Linked DNA regions of Homo sapiens: region 2 is linked to region 1. The links are contacts of gene promoters, found by promoter capture Hi-C in human tissues and cell types (Jung and others, 2019). All regions are on one chromosome and are shown on one strand. The core of a region is centred on a gene start or on the middle of the fragment in contact, and the rest is flanking DNA. Distances in the headings are between cores, read along the strand shown. Region 1 holds the start of TGM2 (transglutaminase 2). Region 2 overlaps TTI1 (TELO2 interacting protein 1).

What was found. The method cuts DNA at HindIII sites, captures the fragments that hold promoters and counts their contacts. A contact is called where the count stands out against the background at its distance.
Region 2: a fragment that was not itself captured here is called in contact with the fragment with the promoter of TGM2 in region 1 in 1 of the 25 tissues and cell types used here (IMR-90 fibroblasts).

What each region holds. Positions count from the first base shown.
Region 1 is chr20:38,163,320-38,166,519 of GRCh38, forward strand. TGM2 (transglutaminase 2) reads right to left here and starts at 1,951. Exons shown (of 13, transcript NM_004613.4): 1 at 1,870-1,951. The coding sequence starts at 1,879. RefSeq lists a silencer at 1,804-2,243. The HindIII fragment of the contact is 7,409 bases long and covers 1-3,200 here.
Region 2 is chr20:38,015,006-38,018,079 of GRCh38, forward strand. All of the region lies in intron 1 of TTI1 (TELO2 interacting protein 1), which reads right to left. Among named protein-coding and RNA genes, the nearest start is that of TTI1, 17 kb to the right of the region's middle. The HindIII fragment of the contact is 3,197 bases long and covers 1-2,904 here.

The sequences.
Region 1 (3,200 bases), core at 701-3,200:
AAGTCACGCCGCAAGTTGGTCCTTGCAGTGGGAGAGCCCAGGTCTCCTGCTCACCATCGACTATTCCAAAAATGAGATGCAAAGTGCCTTGTATGTGAATTATCTCGACTTAAATCCCAAAACAACTCCGCTTACATAGATGCTATCATGATTCCCATTTTGTAGACAAAGACACCAGGTGGCTCCAGGTCCCAGAGCAAGTGGCTGCTTTGGGATTGGAATCCAGAGCTGTAGGATTCTGTAGGATTCTGCCCTGGGAACCACCTCACTACAGCTCAGTTTTTTCTCCAGCCCCTCTTATGACCACCCCTTCGCCACCATGTCCTGTGTTGTTCTCAAACCTGGGGGCAGATAGTTCTGCGCCACTGAAGTATCAGGGATGTCGGTCCCCGTGTAATCACAACAGAAGAGACCTCAGTGGCCAGAAGGAAAAACTTCCTGCTGGCCTATTGCGGCGAGGAAATGTTTTTGGAAACTTCAGACCCAGGGAGCTTGAGCAGGAAAGAGGCCATTGTTGTTCCCATGGAAGACCCTGGAGATACGGCCAGTCCCTGGGCTGTGGGAGCTGGGGCATTTTCTCCATCTGTTGTCCGAAGAAGGGTTTCCAGAAATCACGCCCAGCTCCAAAGATGCAGGTCTAGAATTGTAGGATTTATAGGATTTCTGCACTTAGAAAGGGCCTAGGCCTTCTAGGCCAGTGAGACCTCTGTCAGAAGTGGCCACTGTGACATGGGGCTGGAGGCTCATCATAACTGGCATCTCCAGGATCTCCCAGCCCCACTGAGCCCTGCTTTTGAGCATGGGGGTGAGAAGATGCATTGAGGACAAGCGGCCACCGAGGCGACACATCACAGTGTGTTGGGAGCTGGGCCCGAGGGAGGCAGGTGGCTGAGATCACACAGCAGGGTCAGGTGGGTCCACAGTTCCTGCCACCCATTCCTGCTCCACCTGCCCCATGTCCCTGTCCCACACCCCTTCCTGGGGGTTGCAATGGGTGCAGAAGCCATCCCCAGATGAACTTGACCCAAGAGCCAGCTGGGATTCTGGGTCCAGCAGTGACATCCTCCATTGTAGAAATCCCTCCAGCTGGGACCTACGAGAGTGCTGCTTGTGTGTGGGGAGGGAGTCAGGGGCACCAGTATGAAATTAGTTAAGCCTCTGTTCCACTCCTCTCGTTCCTCACAGATGCACCAAAGGCTGGAGCAGAGGACCAGGGCACGGTCAGGGTGACAGATGGGTGGGGGTCTTGGGGGAAAACAAATCTCATAAACCTTGTCCTATAAAATAAGGACACTGTTGTCCTTATTTTATAGGTGAGACTCAACAATTGGCCAAGGTCTAGGGTTGCAGAACGTGAGGGCGGGAAGAACAAGCCTGATTTCCGAAGGCTCCTGGATAGGATGCCGAAAGCTCCTCTCTGGCCGCTGGAGCCAAGGACTCAGCCAGGCTTGGCTTGCACACCACCGGCGTGGCATGCACACCACCTGGTCCTGGCTGGCAAGAACCACCCAAACCTAAGTGTTCTGAGGCCAGGCCAGCACCCCCTGCACAGCTCCAGGCACACATCAGAGAGCCAGCCCCCACTGACTGACTGAGGACACGTGCCAGTGGTCCGCCAGGACAGTACTTTACAGTTTACAACACCCCGTCGCGTTCCATTGCCTCACCTGATCCAGGGAGGCAAGGGTTAATGGTTATGCAGTGTGGATGGGGAAACTGAGGCTCCAAGCAGCATTGAGACGCCTCCTCACCCAGCCCGGTCTGCCTGTTGCTCTCCAAATCAGGACTTAGGGATTCAGCTCCCACCGGGTCCTGACCCCCAATGCCCCGGGGCCCCTGAGTGGCGGCTGCGGTGACTCTGATACTCACCCTCGGCCATGGTCGGGCGGGGGCGGTGGCTCCTTCCACTGGCGGCGAGACCCTCCAAGTGCGACCACTGGCGGCTGGCACTGCCGAGGCGGAGAGCGGCGCTAACTTATAGCCCGCTTTGGGGCGGGCCGGGGGCGGGGCCCCGCGGGAAGGCGGCGACCTGGGAGGCCACCCATTGCCCAGTCCCGGGCCCACGCCGCCAGCGCTGGGGCTCACCCAGGGGACCGGAGCCCGAGGGAGGGACGGCGGCCGGACGAGGGCGCCCCCTGGGGGAGCGGACAGGGACACACAACTAGCCCAGGATACAGACACACCTGGACCCACAGACTCAGACCTTGGAGAACAGACACCTGGACACACACACTCAGATACAGACACACGCAGCACCCTCATAGAAACACACAACGGAACCGGGGTGCACCTGGACACACAGATGTGGACTCTTAGGTCAGATCTGGGATCAAGAACACCTCCCCACCCCCAACACACACACACACACACACACACACACACGCACACACTCACACACATACTCAGATATACATACACAGAGAGCAGACGCAGACACACCAAGACAGGGCTGTGGAGATACACACACAAACACAGATACACTCCCACAGATACACCAAACACGGCTGGCCACGCAGACACAGTGACATGGATACAAATTCAGATTCGAATGGCAGACACACACCAGGACATAGATACAGCCTGACACAGCCAGGTAGCCTTGACCGCGAGCCACACACAGCTGTGGACACAGATGAGCAGGTGTCCAGAGGCACCTGGCACACACACAGACCTCCTAGACACCAATGCCACTGTCAGATGTGGACGCAAAATCAGAGAGGGCACCCACAGACACACAAAGATGTGGCTACTCAGAGGTAGACACACATGCAGGCATGGACTCAGGTACAGACATGCAGACACACCTGCAAAAACAGACACACCCATGTCCCTTCCTGTAGCAAAACCCAGATAATCCTCCGATCTCACCCATCCTTGTATCTGTCTAATCAGCCATCCATCTAATCAGCCATCCATCTACCCATCCATCCACTCACCCATGCATCACCTACCCCCCCACCTATCCATCCACTCATCCCTTCATCCATCCCTCCCTCGGCCTTCTCTTCCCTCCCTCCCTCAATCCATCCATCCACTGAGCTTTCTTGAGGCCCCACTGTGTGCCAGAAAGGAGCAAGACTAACTTTCCAGGGACTCAGCCTAGGACTTCTCGAACCTGGCAACCAGGGGTCCTATCTCTCATCCTGGTATCTCTGGTCTCTTGGTCTCCTGTGCTTCCGGATCCACTGTGAGCCCTGAGC
Region 2 (3,074 bases), core at 56-2,555, 150 kb before region 1:
GTCTGGTGGTCTTGTGGTCTTTCTTTTTTCTCTACTTGCTGGGGGCTTTTGAAGAGATGATAAGAAAGTGCTTGTGCTGCTTCTGTCTACCCCCAATTCCATGAACACTCCCGAACTCGGTGGCTATAGATTGGCAGGCAAGTCGTGCCAGCGGGCGTGAGCAAGGCCTGCTCAGTCCAGAAAGAGAGCTGGTGCCAAATTTCCCCATGGAGAGACTCTGATACGCTGGAGAGTCTGGTCTACTGACCTCCCTGGAACCCTATGAGGAAGGGCACTGTTCGTCACTGTGAGGCTTCGTTGGGGTGTATCTCATGCTCTCTGTGGCCCCAAGAAGCCAGAGAAGGGAAGAAGCTTGACTCTTCCCTATCTCAGGCTAGAAAAATGCCACGCGTGGCAGCCACAAAGCTTGGCTGGGGTCTAATGACATCCCATGTGCACTGGCTCATACACTGATGAACCAGAGGCTGCTTTGCCACCTCCCTGCCTGAGATACTGGTAGTTGGATCAAGAAGTAGGAAAGAAAGAGAATTGCTTAATGGGATCCAGCAGTCATGGGTAGAAAAAGCATTTGAGCACTCCTTGAGGTGGTGAATCTTAGATTAACAGAACCAGAAAAAGAGGCAGATAAGAATTTTAATAATAATAATAATAAAAAGACCAAGTTCAATTATGACACCAAAGATGTCTCTTAGAATTAAAAGCATAATTTTCCACACACAAAAAAGCTCCACTGATGAAATTTTTAAAAAGACAGTTAATTGCCAAAACCCAATTAGTGGCCTAGTAGATCAAGTGGACCTGTCTTACCCAAAGCAGGGATGCAGAGACGCAAACTGTGAGACTTGGAGGACAGATCTGGAAGAACCAGCATGTAAGGGGGAATTTGAAAGGAGAAACATTTCCCTTAGCTGCAAAAAGATTTATCTGGAGACCGAAAAGCCTTGAAGGATACACACCTGACCACATTCTGGTAAAATTCCTTCACTCTAAATATGAAGAGAAAAATCACATATGCTTTGAGGAGGAAATGACAAATAACAAATAAAAGAAAAAGAAACTGGCTTTGAACTCCTCATTGGCAACAATGGATGCTAGAAGACAGTGGAATAGCACCTACTTACTGCAAATAAAGGATTGTGGCCCCCAAATGCCACTGAAGATGTTCTTCTGTCAAGATGGAAGAACAACATGCAAGAGAGGGTATTACCCACATATCCCACCAGAAGAAGACACTTACACTGCTGAGGAATTTTTTTTCTTTTAGTATGGAGAATTTTCTTCAAATACAATGTTTAAGTGGAAGCCTGGTATACAAAATGGACAAAATCAGAGGGTGTCTTGTAAAATCCAGGGTGAAGGCAATGGCCTAGGGCTCTCTCTCTTATTTCACTGTAGGAGTTTCAAGAAGATAACTTGGGGTCCGCCCCCTGACAGGGTGGTGGTTCCTAAACTACATTCTCAGATTATATAACAAAAACCGTAATAGAGCTAATGAAATGGGAATACACAGTATGTCTAACATTGACCTCATCGCTTTCTGCCATATTCCCTTGGTGATTTATAGTCAAGCTAGAAACCCTAGAATCTCTGTTTTCTTTCACCCTCTCTTAATCCCAACATTCCCTACATTTCATCAATTCCACCCCTTTGACACCTTTCAAATCTGCTGATGATGATAACCAATGTGTTTCATATTGGGTCAACTCTCACAGTTTCCTCTCTGGCCCTTTGGCTTGTTTCTTGCCCTCCTCGAATTCACATTTCACAATGACACTTAAGTAATCTTTCTAAAAGAAAAATCTGATCGCAATTCTCTAGGCTTAATTCTTAAACTGCTCTCCATCCTGCATGAAGGGCAGATACTTCTAGGTAGAAGCTATACCTAAGCATTACCATGGCATACGGGGCCTTTCACCATCAGGCTTCTGCCTGTCTTGCCAACCTCATTTTTCATTATTCTACCACTTTGATCTCTAACCTGCAATCATGTAAAATTTATAAAACTTGCAATTTTCTAAACAGGTGGTGCTAGTTCACATTTGTCTCCTTTTTCCTACCCCTGTACACACCTCTATGACAGTATTTGGCATGCTGTATTATTTGTGTATATGTCTGTTTTACCTAGTTTAGACTAGAGGCTCTGAGAGGGCAGGGCAATCCTATACCTAGAAGCTACAAGAGCATCTGGCACATGGCAAGCCCTCAAAAACATCTGTACAGATTCTGCTTCCAAGTAGGATATAGTATGGTTTGGCAGGCTAATACTCCTGCCAATGACTAGAAAAAGCCAAATAAATTACAAAAATCATTTCTTAAAGCATCCAATACTTGTGGAAGCAACAAGGACTAGATGGACTAACAGACTGAGAATGTTCAGAGGGAATCAACAATCAATAGCTTGTGTGTGTGTGTGTGTGTGTGTGTGTGTGTGCGCGCGCGCCTTTGGTGTGTGCGCACGAGCCTTTGGTGCATGTGTTGATCCTGGACGTGGGCTTGGGATTAGGGTGTGGTTATCATTGGGGAAAGAGAAACCACAATGCTTTCGATGGTCACCTGGGGCTGGACAGACAAAACTGCAATCTTGAGGGACCTCCAAATACCCAACTTCTGGAAGAAGGCTGCTGCTGAAGACAACCCAGTAGAGATTTTGGTATTCTTCAAAGCTGGGGTAACAAAGCTGGAGATTTGATGGACTCGAAATACTTACTTGGTTGGGGTCTTCCTCAAGACATTTAGTCAATTTTGAAATGATGTGAAGTAGTGGTAGGCTAAATAACTAAGCTGAAAACCTTAGGGGCAGAAGTGAACCTCCTAAAGGCTTTCATGTCTAAGGAGACAAATAGCCTATTAGGCTTTCAACTGAAAGCCCTGGAGGACCATACTCTAATAAGGATGAACCAAAGTAAGTTTGGGGCTTACCAGGATTGCAACCCAGCAGTGACCTAGCTCAATCCCTGAAATACGTCAGACTAGACTGAAGTATTTAATTAACAGAAGAAAGGGGCAAACCTTGATGGTGGAAGATATATGCATCCACTATGATTCTTTTATATAATGTTTGGTATATAATAAGT